Regions from separate parts of the Homo sapiens genome. Here regions 2, 3 and 4 are each linked to region 1. Evidence: promoter capture Hi-C in 16 types of primary human blood cells and fetal thymus (Javierre and others, 2016). All regions are on one chromosome and are shown on one strand. Each heading gives the region's core, a stretch centred on a gene start or on the middle of the fragment in contact. The rest is flanking DNA. Distances are from core to core; before and after follow the strand shown.

Evidence for each region. Contacts are between HindIII fragments. The CHiCAGO score rates a contact against its expected background, and 5 or more counts as called.
Region 2: a fragment that was not itself captured here is called in contact with the fragment with the promoter of ARFGEF1 in region 1 in 1 of 17 cell types (endothelial precursors); the score reaches 5.2 in endothelial precursors.
Region 3: a fragment that was not itself captured here is called in contact with the fragment with the promoter of ARFGEF1 in region 1 in 2 of 17 cell types (fetal thymus and activated CD4 T cells); the score reaches 9.9 in fetal thymus.
Region 4: the fragment with the promoter of RRS1 here is called in contact with the fragment with the promoter of ARFGEF1 in region 1 in 2 of 17 cell types (fetal thymus and total CD8 T cells); the score reaches 7.6 in fetal thymus.

The regions. Positions count from the first base shown.
Region 1 is chr8:67,342,058-67,348,260 of GRCh38, forward strand. It overlaps ARFGEF1 (ARF guanine nucleotide exchange factor 1), which reads right to left and starts at 1,724. Exons shown (of 39, transcript NM_006421.5): 1 at 1,107-1,724. The coding sequence starts at 1,230. It overlaps ARFGEF1-DT (ARFGEF1 divergent transcript), which reads left to right and starts at 1,777. Exons shown (of 5, transcript NR_136224.1): 1 at 1,777-2,245. RefSeq lists an enhancer at 738-1,418 and silencers at 1,345-1,574, 1,755-2,014. The HindIII fragment of the contact is 1,332 bases long and covers 1,123-2,454 here.
Region 2 is chr8:66,460,798-66,467,126 of GRCh38, forward strand. All of the region lies in intron 13 of ADHFE1 (alcohol dehydrogenase iron containing 1), which reads left to right. Among named protein-coding and RNA genes, the nearest start is that of VXN, 30 kb to the right of the region's middle. The HindIII fragment of the contact is 1,417 bases long and covers 1,355-2,771 here.
Region 3 is chr8:66,775,129-66,780,694 of GRCh38, forward strand. The region is part of intron 3 of C8orf44-SGK3 (C8orf44-SGK3 readthrough); the gene reads left to right. All of the region lies in intron 1 of SGK3 (serum/glucocorticoid regulated kinase family member 3), which reads left to right. Among named protein-coding and RNA genes, the nearest start is that of SGK3, 65 kb to the left of the region's middle. RefSeq lists enhancers at 1-281, 2,810-3,311 and a silencer at 18-447. The HindIII fragment of the contact is 1,321 bases long and covers 1,727-3,047 here.
Region 4 is chr8:66,425,247-66,431,254 of GRCh38, forward strand. RRS1 (regulator of ribosome synthesis 1) reads left to right here and starts at 3,768. Exons shown (of 1, transcript NM_015169.4): 1 at 3,768-5,487. The coding sequence starts at 3,886. The coding sequence ends at 4,983. It overlaps RRS1-DT (RRS1 divergent transcript), which reads right to left and starts at 3,731. Exons shown (of 3, transcript NR_040434.1): 1 at 3,696-3,731; 2 at 796-931. All of the region lies in intron 1 of LOC102724687 (a long non-coding RNA gene), which reads right to left. RefSeq lists enhancers at 3,157-3,226, 3,647-4,016, 5,286-5,335 and a silencer at 3,417-3,506. The HindIII fragment of the contact is 6,678 bases long and covers 1-6,008 here.

The DNA.
Region 1 (6,203 bases), core at 474-2,973:
CATACTTTAAGTTATTGTGGATTTTTCCCCTTTCAAGAATGCTTTTTTGTAAAGCCCATTTAACAAGCTTCCTTTTCTTGCCAATTTGACCTAGTGTATTTCCAGTGCTATAAAGTGTAAACATTAGGAATGTATCTTTGTGTTAAATGTTCTGGTCTCTCAAACGATTTCAACTTTGATGGATGCAATAGATCTAACAATGTTCCCCCTTTAACAACTCCTCATCTGCCTAACCTCATAGGTAGGAGGTATTGTTTGGATTTTCCCTGCTGCGGGCTTCATTACACTAGATCTCTTCCATCTGAACTATAAATCACAATTCAAGCTTGAGAGCAGCTGCCACTGTCCAGACATGTGGCTGGTGGGTGTCATTGTCTTTTTCATTTTCCTCATTTCAAACCCTCCCTTCCCTTGTCACCTAAAGCCATTTTATCTAAAGGTTCTTTGCTTCCCTGCTTTCATGCCGCCACCCCCACCCTCACCCCTTAACCACCGGTCTTGTTCTTCCAGGTCAGCCCAGTCAGATACAATATTACTCTATGTTTTTCCTGTGGCGGAGGCGGAGAGATGTCAGAACGGGCTGCACCTCTTGCAAACCCCTTCTCAAGACTGTCAACAAGGAAACAACTTCAGCAGCCTATCTCCCCAAAGTACCTCGCCAAACGAAAAAGTTATTGTTAATTATGATACGGAACCTTTCCCACACCCAATCTTGACATACCAGCCCCACCTCAATTTCCAAGCTAATAAACAACAGCTCATCTTCTGCTTCATCACAAAGGGTGGTATCCAGTCCGCACCTCACGGACCACCAACAAAATCCTCTCACTCTCAAGTCGATCCCTCGAACCCAGGTGCCCCGCGATCCTAAGCCCTGCCGCGTTTCCCGAGCCCAGCTCACTGCCCTTCCTCCTCTACCCCGCCTCTGCCCCACATCCAGCCGAGTTCCTGTCAACTCCAGACAGGGAACAGAGGGCTCCGCGAGGGCTTCCCGAGGTCAGAGGCGCGGGCCTCGGGCAAGCCCCGGGCGACCCCACCCCCCCACAGGCGCCCCCCTCCCCGCCCCACAACAAGCACCCCATCCCCCGGGCCTCCTCCCCGCTCACCTAACGCCACCTCGCAAGCTTTGCGCAGCTGGGAGTGATGCGCCTTCTTCACTTCCTTGTCGGCCAATATCTTCTCCAGAGCCCGGGTCAGGAACATGTTCTTCGTCTTCTTCCCCTCATACATGGACGCAGAGAAGGAGGCGGCGGCTCGTCCGACCCGCGGCTCCCAGCGGCTGGAGGGGAGGAGGAGGAGAGGAAGGAAGAGAAGAGAGAAAGGAGAGGGGGTGGAGGTGGGGGATTGGAGGCGTGGAGGGCAGCGGCAGGATCAGGAAGGGGCGGGCGAGCGGGACCAGCCGCGGTGTCGGCGAAGGGCGTCGAGGTCCTCGCCGCCCCCAAGAAGCCGTACCTCGAGGGCCGCGCCCGTCGGGCCTCCGCTTCTCCCGGCCCGGGGGTCGCGTCCCGGCCGCCCCTCTCACTCGTCCCTCCGGCCCTGGTGGCGGTGAGGGAGCCCGGCCCGGGCGGCTGTCTGCCGGGAACTGAGGGACGAGGTGGCGGCGGCTCTCAGAGGCACCGCGAGAGAAGGGCTACCCTGGCTACTGTGGGGATTAGCACCCGCCGCGGCCGCGAACTGGCCCCCATCACCGCCGACCTGCCCCGGCCGCCATGTTGGGAGGAAACGACGCGTCACGCAGCGGCCGAACGGCTGCAGACGAGGAAGCGGCGGCGGCGGCGGCGGCGGCGGCGCTCCCTGCCCAGAGCTGCCGCGGCGCCGGGAGGCTGGGGGCGGAGGGCGGCGCGGGAGGAGCGGCCCGAGCCGCAGCGCTACGGCGGCCCGGCGGGGCCTCCAGCGTTCGCCTGCAGGGCGGCGTGGGGCGTGGCGGGCCTCTGGTGGCACCGCGCCCAGCACTTCGGGCTCTTGGTGGCGGCCGAGCTGCGGGACCAGAGATCCCCCCACTCGGCACCCCTGCTCCTGCCGAGTGAACAGGACTCCTGGCTACTCTGCACTGGCTTTCTAACTTTCTGATGGGGGTGCAGTCCTTTGCATTCCAGGGGTCACAGCAACACCCGCATCGCCCGTTCTCAGCCGCAGGGTCTCCGCCTGCATCACTCGACTCTAAAATTTCCTTCCCTAGTGCACGGAACTGCTGTCCAGGACTCTGCTCTCCGACTACCTCAGGGAGGATTCTGTTTTGGGAAAAGTAAGCCAAAACCTATTGATAAGGGTTCAAAAATGTTTCACTTTTTTCTCTCTCTGTCGGATAAATCGGTCAACTCTAGATTTCAGGTCCCTTCTGAATTGACTCAGTTAAGGTGAATGGTTGTGAATGAGGTCCCTTAGAGTTCTGTGTTTCTGTGCCTTTAATACTAAGATTTAGTCCAGGACATGTAAACCAGTTTAGAATGGAAAAGCTTTAAGTACAAACAGATTAACACACGTGACCATGTGTTTGCTTTAGTCTGAGTGTAGAACTCAAATTTCTGCAGTATTTAATTTCTACAGTTTCCTTCTGAGCAGAAAAAGAATACCATAAAAATATTTGCAAACATTATATATGGTGATCTAGGGTCACGTCTCCAAGTTCTAAGCTTCTGTGGCTCCACGCACACAGGTTCCCTAATGTTTACTATGCATCTGTCACTGTTCTGTTCTATTAGATTGCCTTAACTATAGGCTTGTCCTAACGTAACCATCCAAACCTAAGGAAGGAGAAACTTAAGTGACTCTGTGAACTTAGTGAAGTGACCAGATTTAGGAAGGCTAAAACCCAGAGGAAATAAAATGGAAAACTTGAAGGTGACAAATTAAAGTGGAAAAATAGATTAATTTTTTTAAACTTTATTGTCCTGAGAAACAAATCTATAAATTCATTAATTTTATTTTAGAGACTATCTCTAGATTCCTGGAAATGAAGGATTCATTATACTCTTAGATCAGATATAATACTGATTTCTGTGTATACGTTAATAAACTTTTTTAGAACAAGTTCCATTTCTTTTATTTTTTTCTTCCCTTCTTTCACAGGTGTTGATCCATTTCTAATTCATCTTTGTTTCTTCATAATGGAGTGTTGTGCCAGGTACTGTTGAGGGTACTAGCTGATCACCAAACCCATTTACTCTTCTTTCTTAGTATAGAATTGCATTGTCCAGCCTCCCTTGAAGTTAGGTGTAGCCATCCAGGCTTAACCTATTGTTAAAAAACCAACAAGAAATTCCCACAAGCAATCTTTCATGCTGTTTCCCTTTTTTTTTTTTTTCTTTTGGTAGAGATGGCATCTCACCATGTTGAACTCGTGGCCTCAAGCGATCCTCCTGCCTCAGCCTCCCAGTGCTGAGATTACAGGCATAAGCCACCATGCCCAGTCTCTCTTTTCCCTTCTATGGCCACAGCTGAAGATGGCAGAACCACAAGTTAGGAGTCTTAGTTTCTGAATTGGAACTCTTGGAGAAGAACCATCTAGAATAACTATTTTGTACTTTACATGAACGAAGCAGACTCTTCGGTTATGTTTAGCTGTCAGCTTTATCGTAAAACATACTTGGGATTCATTGATGAACAAGACAAGCTGGCACCTGTAGTCCCAGCACTTTGGGAGGCCAAGGCAGGAGAATGGCTTGAGGCCGGGATTTGCAGATGAAACTGGGCAACGTAGCAAGACACTGTCTTTACAAAAAATAAAGAAAAATTAGCCAGGCACGGTGGCATCCACCTGTAGTTGCAGCTGCTCAGGAGACTGAGGAGGAAGGATCGCTTGAGCTCAGGAGTTCGAGGCTGCAGTGAACTATGATATGATAGTGCCACAGCATTCATAATCATCTCATCTGCTTGCCTTGCTTGTTGATTGGTTGCATGTTTCTCTCATAAGTGCAGGGACCTCATATCTCTGTCTATTCACTTCTGTGTGCCCATCATCTATTATATTGCTGGCATAGAGAAGGCCTTTGCTATAAACTTATAGAAACTTGGATAAATGAAAGGCACCAGGCTAAGACAAGCATGATACCTGCCCTTTTGGACCTTACAGTATAGAGTAGGGAAAAGATATTAAGTCAGTAGTGAATATACAATTACAAATCTGTTGAGTATGATTAAAGAATAGAGTGCTGTGAGAGAAGGGAGAAGTAAATTAAATTGAGACCTGAAAGAAGAGTAGACATTAGCCAAACTAAGTCATGAAGAACTTTCCAGGCAAAGTCTCTTGGGGTAGGGGGAAGCTTGGCAAGTTTCAGGAAACAAAACAAGGCAGTGTGGCTGAAAGGATCAAGGAGAATGGTGCCAGTCAGGATGAAGAGGGAGCTAGGAACCAGATCATTCAGACTCTCGTAGGCCATGTTAGGGGGTTGCAATTTCATCGTAATAACAATGGAAATTCATTGAAAGGTTTTAAAAGTGGGGGATAAAGTGATCAAATTGGTGATTTTAAAATAATCCCTCTGTTACATGGAGAATGGATTGGAGGGGGAGAAGTGAGGATGTGGCAAAACATTTTAAGAAATTTATTACAACAGCGCAGGATGGCTTGGTCAGGTCCAGGGCCACCAAGCAAGGTTGTGGAGATCGTGGCACAAGGGAGCAAGTGTGGCTGAAATCCAGCCCCACTGTCTGCCCAAAAGAAGAGGCTTCTTTCACTAATTTGCATAAAGGTTAGCCCAGAAATGACAGTGGTAGCATGGAGATGGAGCAAAGTAGACAGATTTGGGATATACTTTGGTGGCAGAATAAACCGGACTTAATTAACTGGAGTGCAGGTTAGAGAGAGAAAGAGGTCACAAATGAATACCAGGTTTCTGCTGGGAACCAGTGAACAGTTGGAAATGCCATTTGTAGAGATAGGCTAGATGGAAGATTTGAGGGTAAAGAGTGTAGTTGTCAGTTTCAGAAGAATAAACTCCTCTGAGATATGACCTAACCCTCCCAGAAGGAATGATTTGCATCTTCCTTTGGGAGGACAACTCATCCTCTTCCCTTGCTGGGTTTACCCAAAAGGTGGTGGTGCTTGAGGGTGGAGGGGGGTAGGAGTAGTCTTACGAGATGGGCACTCCTATCCACTTGAAACTCAAGATACTAACTCAGACCTGTAGCAAAAATAGAGTAAGACTCTAGAATAAAGCTGATGCTCTTGGATATTTTCAATCTTTTATTGACAGGTACACAGGGAGTGGCAAAGGAGATTTTTACATGAAATTATGAGTACAGACCAGGCACTGTGGCTCATTCCTGTAAACCCAGCACTTTGGGAGGCTGAGGCGGGTGGATCACCTGAGGTCAGGAGTTCAGGACCAGCCTGGCCAACATGGTGAAACCCCGTTTCTACTAAAAATACAAAATTAGGTGGGCGTGGTGGCGGGTGCCTGTAATCCCAGATACTCAGGAGGCTGAGATAGGAGAATCGCTTGAACCCAGGAGGCGGAGGTTGCAGTGAGCCAAGATCATGCTGCTGCACTCCAGCCGGAGCAACAGAGTGAGACTCGATCTCAATTAAAAAAAAAAAGAAAAGAAATTATGAGTACATTCCCCTGTATATATATATTTTTTACTTTTTATTATTAATGTTGTTTGGTGCTAATATACAGCTATGTAAATAAATGCAATCTCAGTATTCACTTGCACTTGGCTCCTTGCAGTTTTCAAAACATCCAAATTCTATTTCTGAATTTCTAAAATATCTATCCTCTAAATTTTGAAATATATTTTTCCTTTTTTTGTTTTGTTTTATTTTTTGTTTTTTGTTATTATTATTTTTTGAGACGGAGTCTCACTTTGTTACCCGGGTTGGAGTGCAGTGGAACGATCTCGGCTCACTGCAACCTCCGCCTCCCGAGTTCAAGCAGTTCTCTTGCCTCAGCCTCCTGAGTAGCTGGGATTACAGGCGCCCACCACTAAGCCCAGCTATATATTTTTCTTATACATAATTGCTTTCCTGAGTCCATTTTGCCTCTCAGTTTGCACTCTCACCTTCCTATCACCTAATTCCCCCTCATCATTTCCCCTTCCATCTGTTAGTTTGCTGCGTACTAGCTGCTTTGGCTTTACTTCTTGGATAATTTTCCCACTTGTTTCCAAAGAGTCAAATAATATCAAGCAATAAAAGACTTTGATCTGGGTTTTAGCATCTTTATTGGTGTGCTTTATCATAGTCCTTTTAAATATAGATA
Region 2 (6,329 bases), core at 813-3,312, 880 kb before region 1:
GGCTCCTATAAATAACTATGTGAAGCTGTTCCAAAAGGACCACCAATATTATTTTCCATTGTAAAAGAGTTCCAGGTCTCTACTATTTTGTGAAGAATAGGCATAGCCTTTCAATTAACACTATCACCAAATTGCTTTCGATGAATGTGGGAGATTGTATACTTGATACATATCTGTGTCACTATGGGTCTGATTTCATTTCTTAAATTTTTGTGAAGAATGTGAATGGAGCTGCATCCCTAATTCGGTAGAATCATACTAGGTGTAAAGTTTGCTCTTCTGAGGTTCTCATGAAGAACTCTGATCCCTCAGTGGACCTCTCTTGAGCTAGCACATCAGATCCTAATAGGCCAAGGTCCTGTTCATTGCAATTCACCATAAAGCAGAGAGCTCAGAGCATGAGTGCTTGGTTGGTGGACCACACCATAGTCGCCATGCCCAGAATACTCCTTTAGTCCTCTTGGCCAATATGGGAAAGGCAGAGGTCACCTCAATGCTATGAGGGTATGAGGATAAGGATCTTCTGCCACAGGCTAAGGCATTCCCTGACCATGGAACAGAGTTAGCAGCTGAAACATCCACTCACACAGCAGCCTGCTTGCCACAAGTGCTGGTGCTTTTCCCTCACCCCACTCCAAGTAGGCAAGGGCCTCAAACTAGCTTCTTCCTCCCCACTTCGCTAGTGCTTAGAATGTTGACAGCCTCACCACTCACTTAAGATAATATTTATATAGATTGTGTTCATAGACTCATGTGTCCACAGGAGCCAGGTAGAGAATAGCAGTGAACAATGTCATGTAAGGCCTTAGGGAGTGGTGGGGACTTTGGTAAGCCAGAAAGCACGTGACCCATCTAACTGGGTGAGCAGCTCAGCTGCAGTTTATCATCACCAAGCAGAAGATCAGGTCCCAGTGTTGGTAGAACTACCAACTCTCAAGAAAAATCAGCAATCCGGATGTTTGTGTTGAATTCCCTGGTTTCCAATGCACAAATGAAATGTAGTCCGTGAACCACCAGTTTCCCTGATTTGGATTCAGGCTCAGTGAATTCAATTGCATCTACAAATAGAAATGAACAAGAAACAAAGGAGTCTCAAAGTATAGGAGAGACCCTGGGCTAACCCACAAACCCTTAATTCTAACCCATACGTCCAAGGGACCAAATCACTAAAAAAATCACACTCTCTAACGCCCTCACAGTTATTTTATCCAAGCCTACCAGCCTGTAAGTCCTGTGAGGGCAGGAATCTGTCTGCTTGGCTCATCCATTTTCCATTGCACCTAGCACAGGCTAGTAAACATGTTAAACGAACACATACCTCCATTCCTCTCCTCCTAAGTCCTCTGTCTAGGTAAGCTTTAATGGCTGACTGAGGATAACTTTTTGAAAAGTTTCCTTAGACTGACTAGGACTCAACCAAAGACAGGGGAGCCATGAAAGCTCAGGGACACCGTAGACTGAGTGGTCATAGTGATTTTTTCCGGAGGGAGGGACAGGGCTGGAGTGCAGTGGCATAATCACAGCTCACCACAGCCTTGACCTCCCAGGCTCAAGTGATCCTCTGTCCTCAGCCTCCCGAGTAGCCAGCACTATAGGTGTGTGCCACCATACCAGGCTAATTTTTTTAACTTTTTTGTACACAATAGGTCTCACTGTGTTACCCAGGCTGGTCTTGAATTCCTGAGCTCAAGCAATCCTCCTGCCTTGGCTTCCCAAAGTCCTAGGGTTATAGATATGAGCCACAGTGCCTGGCATTCACTGCAATTTTAATGTAGCTTCTGGCTTTATGGCATGGTCCCAGTGACACTGTCCACCCTGCAAGGGGCCTTCCAAAAGGTTCTGTTTGTTTAGCCCAGGAAAGTGTTCAGGAAAATGTGTGGGTCCATCTCTAAGAATGGTATCCATGATTTTCAGATGAAACTGTCTGATACCCTTGGCGATTTGATTGCTGACCATCAGTACACACTGACAGGTGTTTACTCTTCTAATTCTACTGTGGTCAGACTGTCACTTTCTTTTGTTTGTTTTGTTTTTTGTTTTTGAGACAGAGTTTCACTCTCATTGCCCAGGCTGGAGGGCAGTGGTGCAATCTTGGCTCACTGCAACCTCTGCCTGCCGGGTTCAAGTGATTCTCCTGCCTCAGCCTCCCGAGTAGCTGGTATTACAGGCACACACCACCATGCCCAGCTAATTTTTGTATTTTTACTAGAGACGAGGTTTCACCATGTTGGCCAGGCTGGTCTCAAACTCCTGACCTCAGGTGATCCGCCCACCTCAGCCTCCCAAAGTGCTGGGATTACAGGCGTGAGCCACCACAACTGGCCCAGACTGTCACTTTCAAAAGCTATTCCACGTAGCAGCAGATCCAGCTTAACATTTGAGACCACTAAAATAGCACTAAATTAACACTAAAATAGCAACTTAATTAGGTATCATTCTGAATGCCTCAGTGCACATGCAATACTGGGAAATCACAGATAGCAAAATCTTAATTGGACAAAACCAATTTCTTAGTTTTACAAAAATGGGAGGTAAATGGAATCTTTTGGATATAAGTTCTGTCTTAAAGTAGGAAGCCAGATTTTCCTCAGGCTGTATTCATAAAACACCCCAAGGCATCTGCTGCCTTTTTTCCTCTGATCATGTTTTCATGATTCAGAGAAATATAGTTAATTTTAATTAAACTAGCCCTAGGTTCATTTGGAGTCTACGTGATTGAGATATGTGTATATTCACAGATCGATAGGACTTTGGTAGGAATCTTAGAAATAAGCTTGTCCATTTTGCAGATGAATAACTACTATGGAATTTTGTTTGTTTGTTTGATGGCAGTGACTGTTTTACAGGAATGCTGTGGCCACTTCAGAGTTTTACACATGCAATAGACTAATCTTCGCTTATTAGTATCTCCAGGATTTAAGGTAGTGAGAAGAATATACTGGCTCCTCCAAAGAACGTCACCAGAAAGGTTATTCAATGTAGTTGACATTTGATGAAGGTTCTTTTCTGTTCAGCAGTGAAGGATTGGTTTTCTCTGGAAGAAACAACCAGGCCAGTATTCTTGACCAAACACAGCCCATACTGGTGGCAGCTAATAGCAGCCCTGTGTACAGAGGCTTTCAACTGCCATAGCCAGGCTGCAAGGGGAGCAGGCAAGAATATATTAATCTTCCAAGCTGGATTTCTAAAACCCCTGGAAAGAAACATTTACATTTCAAATCAAAACATTTCATTACTGAGGAGCGCTGTCTACCCAAATGAGCACTTCCACTCCCTGGTAGACAGGCCAGCTGAAATGTTGTTATTTCATGAACGTGCTAAAAGTAGATGTCTGAATTTATTTCGTTCCCATGTTAATGAGTTGTCCTTCACTCTTACATGCCTATAAATAATAGCACATCATTGCTTAACATATCTTAATTCTGAGAGAGTTTAGCTTTTTTATGGCAGAGCTGATATGTATAGGGACATATCACAAACTTTATGTCCTTGTCCTGTTTAACCAATCACTGGGGGCCAGAAACGCGAAACAGAAACTCAGCTCAGGCTTGGCTTCAAATACTTCTAAGAGTCCTGCACCGCTCCACCAAAGATAAACAGGATCATGTCAAGGGCCTTTGAGCTCATCAGATAAGACTCTCTCCCATTATGAACAACGTAACTTGCCATCATCTGCAGTTACAGCAAACACTGAACTTCAGTTCTTGACCCTGCACAAACACATACATAATGAGACCCTCTGCCTTGCTATGGATTTCCAAAATTCCTTAGGGTCTCTTAAAAATCTGCTGGGATGTGAAACTTTGTCTTTACCTCACCCATACTCATAGGCATTGTCCCTCACCCCTCTCTCATCTGTCCCTCTATCCTTTCTTCCTGCTTTAACTTATCTTTTAAATTGTGATAAAATATGTATAACATAAAATTTACCATTTTAACCATTTTTAAGTGTACAATGCCATGCCATTAAATACATGCACAATGTTGTGCAACCATCACCACTATCCATTTTCAGAACTCTTTTTTTAATCATGCCAAACAAGTGGTGTGTCTGTTAAACACGAATTCCCCGTTCTCCCCTTCTCACAGCCCCTGGGAACCTCTGTCCTACTTTCTGTCTCTATGAATTTGCCTATCCTAGGTACCTCATGTAAGTGAAATCATACAATATTTGTCCTTTTGTGACTGGCTTATTTCACCCAGCACAGTGCCTTTAGTGTTCATCCACGTTGTAGCATGTGTCAGAATTTTATTCCTTTTTTATAGCTGAATAATGTTCCATTGTATGGATATACTACATTTTGGTTATGCATTTACCTATTGATAGACACTTGGGTTGTTTCCACCTTTTGACTATTATGAATAATGCTGCGATGAATATTGGTGTACAAGTATCTATTTGAGTCCCTGCTTTCAATTCTTTGGGGTATATACCTAGGAGTAGAATTGTTGTATCATATAGTAACTCTATGTTTAACTTTCTGAGGAACTGCTAAACTGTTTTCTATAGTGGCTGCACCATTTTACATTTCCATTAACAGTGCACCAGGGCTTCAGTTTCTTCACATCCTCAACAACACTTGTTATTTTTCTTTTGTGTGTGTGTAATAGCCATTCTAATGGTGTGAAGTGGTATCTTATTGTTTTGATTTGCATTTCCCAAATGACTAAGGATGGTGAGCATCTTTTCATGTGCTTATTGGCTATGTATATATATATATTCTTTGGAGAAATAACTAATCAAGTCCTATGCCCATTTTTGAATTGAGCTGTTTGAGGTTTTTTGTTGGTGAGTTGCAAGAATAATTTTTTTCTTTTTTTGAGACGGATTCTTGCTCTGTCATCAGGCTGGAGTGCAGTGGTGCAATCTTGGCTCACTGCAACCTCCGCCTCCTGGGTTCAAGCAGTTCTCCTGCCTTAGCCTCCTGAGTAACTGGGACTACAGGCGTGCACCACCACACCCGGCTAATTTTTGTATTTTTAGTAGAGATGGGGTTTCACTGTGTTGGCCAGGATGGTCTCAATCTCTTGACCTCATGATCCACCCGCCTCGGCCTCCCAAAGTGCTGGGATTACAGGTGTGAGCCACTGTGCTCAACCAGAATAATTTTTATATCCTGAATATTAATCCCTTATCAGATATATGATTTGCAATTTTTTTTAATTTTGTTGTCTTTTCACTCTCTTGACCATGTCCTTTGATGCACAAAAGTTTTAAATTTTTATTCAGCCTAGTTTATCTGTTTTTTTTTTTCTTTTTTCCCTGTGCTTTTTCTTTTTTTTCTTTTAGAGACAGAGTCTTGCTCTGTTGGCCAGGCTGGAGTGCAGTGGTGCAATCTCGGCTCACTGCAATCTCCACCTCCCAGGCTCAAGCAATTCTCCTGCCTCAGCCTCCTGAGTAGGTGGGATTATAGCTGCCCACCACCACACCCAGCTGAATTTTTTTTTTTTTTTTTTTTTGTATTTTTAGTAGAGACAGGGTTTCACCATGTTGGCCAGGCTGGTCTCGAACTCCTGACCTCAAGTGATCCGCCTGCCTCAGCCTCCCAAAGTGCTGGGACCACCGCACTGGACTCCCTGTGCTTCTGGTGTTACATCCAAGAAATCATTGCCAAAGCCAATATTCCTAAAGATTTTTCCCTAATTATTCTTCTAAGAGTTTTAGGGTTCTAGCTCTTACATTTAGGTTTTTGATGCATTTTGAGCGAATTTTTTTAATACATCCATCCTTCTTTTCATTCCTTTTACCAGACAAAACAAATACCTACTGTATACCATGCATTGTACGGTATACTAAAAGAAGGAAAATAAAGTCCCTTTTCTCCTTTGTGAAGCTTACCTTCTAGTGAGGGGAGACAGTGAACATCTATAAATAAGATGTAAATGAAATCATTTCAGATAATGATTAGTGTATGAAGGAAAACCTGCATAAGGAGATAGAGAGTGATCTCACGGGGAAAGTGTGGAGAGATCTCCAGCCAGGGTGTTGGGAAGGTGCATGATGATAGGCCAATGCTTTCTAGGCAGAGGGGAAGGGCCCTGAGGCAGGGTCAACGTTAGCATATTCAAGGAACTTAAAAGGGATGGTGGGACTAAGTGAGGTGTTAGAGCTGGGGCAGGAAACAGAGCCAGATCGGGGTAGCCTTAGAGGCCATGGTTTTGTTGTAATTGCCACAGGCATTTATCTGCGAGCATTAAACACAGGAATGGTAGGATTCAGTTTATACTGGAAAAAAATCACTTTGGCTGCTGTGGGGAGAATGACCTCTGGGGGGCAAGAATGGAGCAAAAGTGGAAACAGACCTTTCAGGAAGCTTCTCAAGCTGGAC
Region 3 (5,566 bases), core at 1,137-3,636, 570 kb before region 1:
ATTCGGGCGTGGCCGGTGGTGATTGGTGAGGGCGGGGCCTGCCGCAGGGGGCGGGGCCTGCAGGTTTGGCCCCCGCAGGGAGCGCAGCTGGCGCCGCTGGGAGCTGGTGGCGCGGCGCAGGTCCCGGCCGAGTGTGGCGCAGCAGTGGCGGCGCTTCCCATTCGCCATGCGCCGGGGGTGGGTGCCCGAAGGTAAGCGTGTGGCTCATCGAGCTTGCGCGAGGAACCCTTGGCGGAGAACAGCCCCGGCACTGCGCGGGCCAGGTGGAGGGACCCCGGGGGCGCGGGAGGCAGGTGTGGTGTGACGGGCCCCGGTGCCATTTCCGCGCCCATCACGAGCGCGGGGCGGGGCGCGCGGGCGGCCCCTCCTGTGAACCCCTGAGAGGAGAGGCGGGCTCCACACCCGGGCGTGCTGCGACTTCGCGGCACTCATTCACTGCACTTGGTCCGAGACAGAAAACGTTTGAGTTGTTCCACACACACCCCCTCTAAATGTCGAGAAGCCCCAGGTACTGTCAAGTTTGTATATCCTTTAAAATATAGTTTGTGGTTCAGGACAGGAGGAGAAACCCGATAGTGAGCTTGCGGTGGGGCTTTACTTTTACTTTGTGTTATTCAGTTTGTAAGAAAGGTGTAGTAGAAACGGGACTGTTACTTAAACATGGACAGCAGGGGTTACGTAGGGAGTGTATCTTGGAGATGAAGCACGCAGACTTCGGAGCTAAAATCATGGTTTTGAATCTACTTATTAACTGCGAAAACTTGGGCAATTTGCCTAACTTTTCTATGCCTTAGTTTTAGCGTATGTAAAATGGGGATAATGATAGTTCTAACCATACAGCAGTTTTTGAAGATTAAATGAGTTAATACCTGGCTCATAGTCCACAATAAACTTTGGCTGTTTTCTTTGTTATGCATTCAGATGGGCATTAATCTCAAGAATTGTCATCACCGGAAAACCTACGTATATTCTTTCCTCAGAGCTGTTGCTAGAAATGCTTGGGGATTCCTTTGGAACAGTTTTCTTAGACCGAGTTCCACAAGAAAAGGTCTCTTACTTTTCTTTCACTAGGGGTGTTACCTGATGTGATCATCCACCTTGTTCCAAATCCCATCCACAGAAACTTCAGTCTCGAAGGCTGTTCCAAAACAGGGATCAAAAAAGAGGCAGCGCCTTTAAGGTGAATGTAGCCTCATTTTAAGCACCAAGTTCAGGCGGGTTTGTTTAAAAGCAGTTTATATCGCTTTATACAGAACTTTTAAGTTGTGCTATTTTGGGTGGATGCTTATTTGTACTATTATTGCAAAACTAAGTAAACCAGAGCACCCCCAATACATAAATAAACATCATAGGAACCATAGCTTGCTGCAGGGAATCTCAGAATTGAAAGGAATCTGAAAAATCAGACCAGCTGGTCTTTACAGATAAGGATGAGGCCAAAGACTCAGAATCAATAAATGGCAGAGCTTAGGCTAGAATTCAGCTCTGCTGATCAACAAAGTATAAAATCAAATGATGATGTTATTTCTAGTTTTGATGATAGTTACTATCTTTATCTTTGACAGTTTTATGGTTCTGTGAATGGCTTTCCTTTCCAGCACTATCCTGCTTGGTAGCTTAATTGCATGATTCATAATCATTCTTCAGTAGTACCTTTGATTTAAATCACAAGTCTCAAAGTTGCTACATTAATTATTGCTTTGAGAACAAGATGATTGTCTTCTTAAGCTTTGTACAAACATGTTCTAATGTGCTTTGGTTTTGTCCTTTTAAAATGCAGCCCTCTTCTCCCAGGTAGGGAATGTAAACAGCCAGTATAAACAAATTGACCTACTAGGCAGTTTTTTTATCGCTGTTTTATTGGCGAAGTTTTCTTGATTGGGTAGGAGTCAGGAAGTGGAACCCTGAATGCTCACCCAAGGAAGTAGGACTGGGTCCCAAAGAGATAATGTCACAATGTGGCTGCTAAGTTCAAAAGCATTGTGGAGTGAAATTATTTTGAGCTACTGTTTTGTTAGTTGCTGACTCTTCCCCAACTTTTTGTATAGCTCACTCCTTCACCTCTGGGTGTTTGTTTAGATGTTACCTTCCTATTTAAAATTGCATACAACACCACACTTATATATTGACCTATTGATTGACTTATTCATTATCTGTTGTCTGACATGAGAGCGTAAGTTCCATGTGGGTAAAGTTGTTTGCCAGTTGTGTTCACTGTTGTATCCTAAGTGCTTGGAAATAGTGCCTGGCACACAGGAGGTACCGAATTCATGGATCTGATGCAGACATTTCCAACAAGACTAGTAATTATTTACGCCAATTCACTGTCATTTTGCCCTATTTTCCCCTCCCTCCATTTTATTTATTCCTAGTTACCCAGGAATAAAATCTTGAGGCAATGTTAATTCTTTCTTCTACCTTTGTACCCCACATGCAAATAGCTACCACGTTATTTCATCTGTCATTTTTGTTGCAAACCTGCCTCTCCTGTTGTTGCCAAGCCCATTTCTTCATTCCCTTCATTTTAATTTGACACTTACAGCCCTGCAGTTCCCTTTTCAAGTGACTTCACATCCTTACCTGCAGAATGAAATCCAGAGTGAAAAGCCTGACATTCAGAATTCCCTACAACATGATTTAAAGCCCACTTTTACAGTCTGTATCTCCTATAGATGAAGAGATGAGTTCCAGTTTAGGTTTGTAAATATGACAGTAGAATTAAGGCTTTAATGGTGATGTCCTATAAAATCCCAAAATGAGTGTTGCTTCATGACAGTTTCTCTTTCTGTTTTTATTGATGAGTTAATCTTTTTCTCCGATGTGGGCAGGGATTTAGACATAGTGGACTAGTGGCTGTTGCCTGTTTCTAGTGAGGACTTCTGCTGCCCTTTCTGTTTTGAGTTCCCATTCTGCAAACCCCCCCTCACATGCGGCCCCTGCCGTTCCCTACCAAATATCTAGGTAAGTTCAGTTGGAAGTGGTTTTTTCTTTCTCTGAATGCTGGTGACTATCATAGAGAATTTAGCACAGTCTACTTTGAATTTGAAAGCTTCGGGCATTGGTCTTTTCTTCAGTGCTTCATGTCCTGGAGAACAAGAAGCATGCACACACACATTTCAGTTTCTTTTAAAGGAAAAATAAGACCCACATCTGCTTATCTGCTTCTTTTTCTTTTTTTCTTTTGTTATGGAGTCTCGCTTTGTTGCCCAGGCTGGAGTGAAGTGGTGGCGCGATCTCGGCACTTGGCAAGCTCCGCCTCCCGGGTTCACGCCATTCTCCTGCCTCAGAATCCGGAGTAGCTGGGACTACAGGCGCCCGCCACCACGCTCGGCTAATTTTTTGTATTTTTAGTAGAGACGGGGTTTCACCGTGTTAGCCAGGATGGTCTCGATCTCCTGACCTCATGATCGCCCGCCTCGGCCTCCCCAAGTGCCAGGATTACAGGCGTGAGCCACCGTGCCCAGCCACTTAACTGTTTTTTAAACAAACATGAACTTAAAATTATATCAAACAGACCTTTAAATCGTTAAATATTGAGCTTCAACAATTATTTCTACAGTATAGACAAATGAAGAAGATGACAAGGAAAAAGTCAGTACCAAGTAAAAAGATACAAATGAAGACACTGAGGTCTGGATTTATAGAGGGGAGTGGGTGTAGGGAGAGCAGCATGTCCAATACGCATGTAGATGGATAGGCAGATGTTTTTAAAAGTACGCAGTAAATTCAGGAAACCATCAGGAGAAGACAACTTTATTGAGCAATATCTGCAGCTTAGGATTTTGTGGAGTATTATTCCTAAAATATATTTTGTTTTTGTATTTCTAGACACATGGAATACTGTTTCTTTGCTTTGTTTCTATACTGGATAGGACTGAAGATTCTCTTTCTCTCTGGTCTGCAGAAAGTAATTTACTTTCTTTCCTTTCATTGTTTAATCTTAAAAAAAACTTCATACCTTTTTCCTGATTGTCCTGGATGTGTGGAGAAAGGTATATATGCCAGAAGTTTTTAGTCCTTCAGAAAAAGGTGGTAGATATGAGATACTTGAATTTACTATTGTTGAAGTTTATAGTTTTACTAAGTTTGATATCAGCATTTAACACATTTTGCTGAATTTTATATTACAAGCATATCCTTTCACATATTCCAGTTGAGTCAATGATTTTATTTTACTTGTGACTCAGATTAAAACTTGACTCGAGCTTGTGTAAATGTTTCTGTCACTTAATTTTATCTTTTCTCCTGTGGCCTTCCAAACCTCAACTGAAGTTTTTCCATTCTAGGGCATACATTAACTTATTTTTGTTGTTTTTGATTTTAGGTGCTTATAGATGTAGGTCTAAATTTATTTTACCGTTCCTAGAATGAAGCAGCAGTTTCTATTGTTAGGTAGGGGGGAGATATATATATATGTATATGTATGTGTGTGAATATATATATATATATATATATATATATATATATATATATAAAACACATTTTTTATATATATACGTTTTATACATATACACATATATACATTTTATACATATATATGTATAAAATTAGGGCATATATATATATACCCTAATTTTTGAAATGTTAAAATATTAAGGTAAAATTCTGCATGTTGTCTTTACTAATAACATAGCCACTGTAAGGTCAGGATTTGAAATTAAGTAGTATAATTTAAATAAGTATTATAATTTAAATATGTAATTGGTTGTAATTTTTGTGCTTTGGGAAATTTTTACTAATGTGATAATAGTTTTAGTGTCAGGAGAATTTTGAAAGCAAATATTTACTTGAGAGTAAAGTTTCCTTTATCACACTGCATAAGCATCTGTGTTTATCCTGAGTTCTCCTTGATTTTATAAAGCCTTAGTTAAGTGTGTTATCAGATAGAATCATTCATAAAAATAATAAAAAATGAGGGTACACATGCTGATATACTCCCAGCACATGGTAAACACTACATAAGTATCATTAAATAAGTAAATCTATATTTTTAGGGAGGATTTTATTAAGATACCATAGCATATTAGTACATATAGTACTTGGAGTGATCCAGTGAAGAGGCAGAAATTGATGATTCAGGAGACTGATGAAGGAATAATGAGGCATTGGTCACTGAACATCTCACTAGCACACTTTGGCAAGTTGGAATTTCTAAACGTCTCTCTCCACCTGTTGAATAAGTCAATGAAAGGTTTTATTAGGGCCTTCTAAGTGCATGGCAGTCAATAAGTCACAGTTCCCACACCCTAGTCAGGGAGGCTCTCAATAAGCAAGCAACTGAAATCCTAGTTGCAATCCATAAATGCTGAAATGGAAATAAACAACATGATGAGGGAGGATTAAGTTGGGGAGGGAGCACATTAAGGTGGCCATGAAGTTTGTTGGAAGAAGTGACTTTTGAACAAGGCCTTGGTGTTAAGAGCTGATGAGAGTGTCCCAGACAGAGGGGCCACTGGTACAATAGACGAGATGGGAGAGGGCTTGGAAGGTGTGCGAAATAGGAAGGAGTTTGTTCTGGTATGAGTCTAGTGAACACAGAGGCGAGAGGCCCTGGTGGGTGCAGCTG
Region 4 (6,008 bases), core at 2,518-5,017, 910 kb before region 1:
TGGATTTGGAGATAGGAAGAGAAAAGTCAAGGATGATGTCATAGTTTCAAGCCCAAGCTCTAGACTAGAATGATGATAACATCAACTCAATGTCGGCATAGTGCCTCAGGCATCAAAGGCCTTCTATAAACATTTCCTGGGAGAAAAAGAGGGGAGGGATGGACGGATGGATGGATGGATGGATGGATGGATGGATGGATGGATGGATGAAGGAGAAGCAAATCTGGGAGATGATGATATGTTATGTCGTTTTAGCCATATTGAGTTTAGAATATGGCGGAAAAGCCCAGTAGGTAGTTGAAGATTAAATCCTAGAGCTCCGAAAAAGAAAGAAAAATGTACCTGTAAGAACCAGCTGCACAAAAGTGGTAGCTGGCACCATGCAAGTGGATGACATGTCACAGGGAGCACATAGAGAGAAAAAGTGGGATCTGATGACCAAACTTAGGATCTCTCTGTATTTACGGGATATAAGGAAGAAGGGAAACCAACAAAAGAAAAAGACAATATATACCACCATTTGCTGTACTATTAATATATATTCATATATATTTATACATCTCTGGTAGGCCTCCTTTTTCTTTTTTTAATGAAGGAGGTTTTTATTTATTTATTTCAGAATCAGGAGATGCTCTGTTGCCCAGGCTGCAGTGCAGTGGCACCATCACAGCTCAGTGTAACTTCAAACTCCTGGGCTCAAGGGAGCCTTCCTCAGCCTCCTGAGTAGCTGGGACTACAAACGCATGCCACTACAGCCAGCTAATTTTTTTACTTTTTGTAGAGACGGGGTCTCACCATCTTATTCACGCTGGTCTCAAACTCCTGGTCTCAAGGGATCTTCCCGCCTTGGCCTCCCAGTGTTCTGAGATTACAGGTGTGAGCCACCACGCCTGGCCAGAGCCTGCTTTCTCTGGGCACTGTATAGTCTTGCCTAAAATAAGAATGATACAAATGCAACCTGGAGACCACAACTTACCCACTTACCTCAGTAAGATTTTTTTTAAGCCCGAAATCCCAATCTTACTGTTTTTGCTCACCTTGAATCTAACACAATCAATAGTAATAACCTTTAATTAGATAACCCTATAGTGTTTATGCTTTTAAACAATCATTTTGTTGAATGCCTAATATGTGCCCAGCACTATGTGGAAGTAAAAATCAGTCTCTAGTCTTCAAGGAAATTAAAATCAGTTTAGACTATAAAAAACCACTGAATATGGCTGGGCAAGGTCGTTCACGCCTGTAATCCTACCACTTTGAAAGGCCAAGGTAGGTGGATCACTTGAGCTCAGGAGTTTGAGACCAGCCTGGGTTACATGGCAAAACCTGGCTCTACAAAAAATACACACACACACATGCACACAAAGAGCCAGGTGTAGTGGCACGTGCCTGTAGTCCCAGCTACTTAGGGGGCTGAGGCAGGAGGTCCACTTGAACCCAGGAGGTTGAGGCTGCAGTGAGCCAAGATCGTGCCACTGCACTCCGGCCTGGGTGACAAAGTGAGACCCTGTCTAAAAAAAAAAAAAAAAAAAAAACACTGAACATAAAACAGAGTTCAATTAAGAGCTGACCTGTATGATCCAGATCATACCATTTAACACTTGTCAACCTATGCTCTTTTTTTCCCAATTCAGAAGATTGACAGAGAAGCTAACTCCTACATAACTGGTACTTCCTATTAAAGGTCCAATGACGTTACATTATATAGTCAATTTCTTTTTACCTTTCTTCCCCAGTATTCCATAAGGTCTCAGTTATCTTTGCACCTAGTGTCTGCCACATGGTAGCCATTCAATTAAATGTTTGTCAAGTGAATGAATGAATGAGAAACCAAGCCAAGCCCATAGCAGTCATATCAATACACTCAACTCTCTCCTATGGCAAATCCCAAAGGTTTAAGGCTCAAGGCAGTTAGCTAATATGGTCTTTGACCTAGCCTTGGCTACATGGGATGACTGATGTTAAAGCCTTGATGCTGAATGTTAAAGTAGGTTCAAGGGGAAAAAAAAAACAGCAAATTCTAAAATGCTTCTGGATGAGAAAGGCTAGCACAATGCTGAAACTAAACTGAGTCTATTTGCTAATTGCTATTAAGTTAATTTCATTGGTTAATTCTCCAGCATAACCCCCTCTAGGATAAACCTGGCCCCCAGTGAAAGGAAGATAAACCCTGTAAACCACGCAATCAACAGTGCCTCTGATACTCAAATGTACATCCTAGTCACCTACAGATCTTATTAAAATAAAGGTTCTGATAAATTACATCTAGAGTGAGGCCTGACGTTCTGCATTTCCAACAAGCTCCCAGGGGATATTATGCTGCTGGTATGCAGACCACACTTTAATGAGTATCAAGAGCTTGGACGACATTGCAGAGAATAGATCTACAGACTTAAAACCAGAGTTAAGATATCTCTTGTTCTTATATTCCCTAACTGCATAACTTTAGATAAGTCATTTCACCTCTCTGAGCCCTCCTTGTTTCATCTGTGAAAATAATATAGTTAATACAATAATTAATAACATAGTTAATACTAATAGCTAACACATACTGAGTTCTTACCATGTAGCAGTAACTAATGTTTTATGTTTGTCAATTTATAAATAAGGCTTAGATCAAACATCCTCTCCAAGTAATGGTGACCTGATACCTGATTGTAGGCCGTTTGACTCATACTTAACACCATGTAGCACTTACCTCCCAGAGCCTATGAAAATGAAATAATAATCGGTATTTGGCTAATTTGTACTGAGTACTCATACGCTCCAGGCCCTCGTCTAACCCTCCCTTGGACGATATTAACTCATTTATCTTATAACCACCCTAGGAAGTATTATTATCATTATCTCGCAGGCCTTAAAACGGCCTCAACAAGTAAAATTGCTGAAGGACCAACAGTGGCACAGTCAGGATTGGAACCCAGGCAGTGTAACTGCAGAGCGTGGCTTAGTTTCAGCACTGTACTAGATTAATTGAACTAGACTAGGTTCTGTAACTGCAGAATCCCGGATCTCCGAGTCAGCTAGCTCACTAGGGTCGGTGCACACCCGCGCCCACTCGGGGTGGCTTCATTGCCAGAGCCACTGACTCCCAAAACAAAACGAATCTTCTACAATTAGCTCTATGTGTATCTTTGGGATGTTATCTTTCTCGGGCCACAACTAGGAACCCTGAAAGCCGACTATGACTCCAGTGAAACTATTTGGCCCTAAGAAGGGTGATTGTCTAAACATCTTCACAACGGATTTACACTGAAATTGTAACACGCACTTGATTGGAACCCCACACCACAGGCAGTCCCAGGAATTTGTACCCGCCCCGGTCCCGGACCGCGCCCCTGGACAAACCCTCCGGCCCGCCCCTCCGGATTGAGCCCCAAGACTGTCCCCGGACCACCATCCTAAGACCACTCCCTGAACTGCCCCCCCCAAGACCGCCCCCTAGATCGCCCCCCGGGACCGCCCTCTCTAGACCGCCTGCGAGACTGTCCCCGGACCGCCCCCTGGACCACCCCCTAGGCGGCCCCCCGAGCTGTCCCTGGACCGCCCTCTAGACCGCCTCCCGCCCCCTGCATCCTGGGAATCGTAGTCCCAATCCTGCTCTGGAACTAGCAGTGCGGCCTGCTCGGGCCAGCTCCGCCTCTATCTGGCGCCAGCCTAAAGGTCCCGCTTCTAATCCCATCATCTCTCCATACCGCCCTCTGCCGGCCTTTCCTCTGGTCGCCCGGATTGCGAGCCGCTTCCGGACGCTCCGGAAGCGAACCTTTCTTTTCCGGATTGGGCATCCCGGCATCTGCACGTGGTTATGCTGCCGGAGTTTGGGCCGCCACTGTAGGAAAAGTAACTTCAGCTGCAGCCCCAAAGCGAGTGAGCCGAGCCGGAGCCATGGAGGGCCAGAGCGTGGAGGAGCTGCTCGCAAAGGCAGAGCAGGACGAGGCAGAGAAGTTGCAACGCATCACGGTGCACAAGGAGCTGGAGCTGCAGTTTGACCTGGGCAACCTGCTGGCGTCGGACCGGAACCCCCCGACCGGGCTGCGGTGCGCCGGACCCACGCCGGAGGCCGAGCTACAGGCCCTGGCGCGGGACAACACGCAACTGCTCATCAACCAGCTGTGGCAGCTGCCCACGGAGCGCGTGGAAGAGGCGATAGTGGCGCGGCTGCCGGAGCCCACCACACGCCTGCCGCGAGAGAAGCCTCTGCCCCGACCGCGGCCACTTACACGCTGGCAGCAGTTCGCGCGCCTCAAGGGCATCCGTCCCAAGAAGAAGACCAACCTGGTGTGGGACGAGGTGAGTGGCCAGTGGCGGCGGCGCTGGGGCTACCAGCGCGCCCGGGACGACACCAAAGAATGGCTGATTGAGGTGCCCGGCAATGCCGACCCCTTGGAGGACCAGTTCGCCAAGCGGATTCAGGCCAAGAAGGAAAGGGTGGCCAAGAACGAGCTGAACCGGCTGCGTAACCTGGCCCGCGCGCACAAGATGCAGCTGCCCAGCGCGGCCGGCTTGCACCCTACCGGACACCAGAGTAAGGAGGAGCTGGGCCGCGCCATGCAAGTGGCCAAGGTCTCCACCGCCTCTGTGGGGCGCTTTCAGGAGCGCCTCCCCAAGGAGAAGGTGCCCCGGGGCTCCGGCAAGAAAAGGAAGTTTCAACCCCTTTTCGGGGACTTTGCAGCCGAGAAAAAGAACCAGTTGGAGCTGCTTCGTGTCATGAACAGCAAGAAGCCTCAGCTGGATGTGACTAGGGCCACCAATAAGCAGATGAGGGAGGAGGACCAGGAGGAGGCCGCCAAGAGGAGGAAAATGAGCCAGAAGGGCAAGAGAAAGGGAGGCCGGCAGGGGCCTGGGGGCAAGAGGAAAGGGGGCCCGCCCAGCCAGGGAGGGAAGAGGAAAGGGGGCTTGGGAGGCAAGATGAATTCTGGGCCGCCTGGCTTGGGTGGCAAGAGAAAAGGAGGACAGCGCCCAGGAGGAAAGAGGAGGAAGTAATAGTTTCTAACTGTCGGACCCGTCTGTAAACCAAGGACTATGAATACTAAATGTTAAGTTCTAGGCAATTATACGGGGACTCAGAAGGACCTGGCCGCTGCCTTCATTGAGTTTAAAGGGACAGGATTGCCCTTCCGTCAAGAAAGTATGTAAGTGTTGGACTGCACAAATTAATGTTTTTCCCACAACCGAGACTTTGGAGATTAAGAACTTATTTGAGGATTTAAGAATTAGGGAAATAATTTGGTGGAAACCGGGAATGAGTTCTATTCTTAAACAGCCTTTTTTTTTCTTTTTAATGTTGGATATACGGCGAGGTAGAGTTGGCCATATTTCAGAGACTTAGATTGACGTATATGTTTCTGCATTATTTTTACAACAAGTTTGTGTATCAGAGCGGGAGTGCGGGGGAGGGAAAGAAAACAAACAGTTTCAGAATTGAATAGGCAAGTGACTGTTTTAAAGATTAAGTAATAAAGATGTCTTATCTAGTGTGACTTTTAACTTTCTGACTACTGGGTAGAAATTGTACTTGAAGCCGGTTACCTGGATACCTGGTACAGATTATTTTTGTTTACTTTCTGAAAAACACAAAGCAGGCCGTGCGCAGTGGCTCACTCCTGTAGAGTCCCAGTACTTTGGGAGGCCGGGGCGGGCGGATCACCTGAGGTCAGGAGTTCGCGACCAGCCTGGCCAACACAGTGAAACCCCATCTCTACTAAAAATAAAAAAATTAGCCAGACACGGTGGCTGGTACCTGTAGTCCCAGCTACTTGGGAGGCTGAGGCAGGAGTATCGTTTGAACCTGGGAGGCGGAGGTTGCAGTGAGCCCAGATCACGCCACTGCACTCCACTCCAGCCTGGGCAACAGAGGAAGGGGCCATCTCAAAAAAAAAAAGCAGTTCAATTATAATGGTTTCAGTGATACCACTTCTAAACTTATACTTCTTTTGGTATCAAATATAATATTCAAAGTAGTAAAACTGATGTCTGTTTTTTAAAAAGATTTTATGCCTTTCAACACT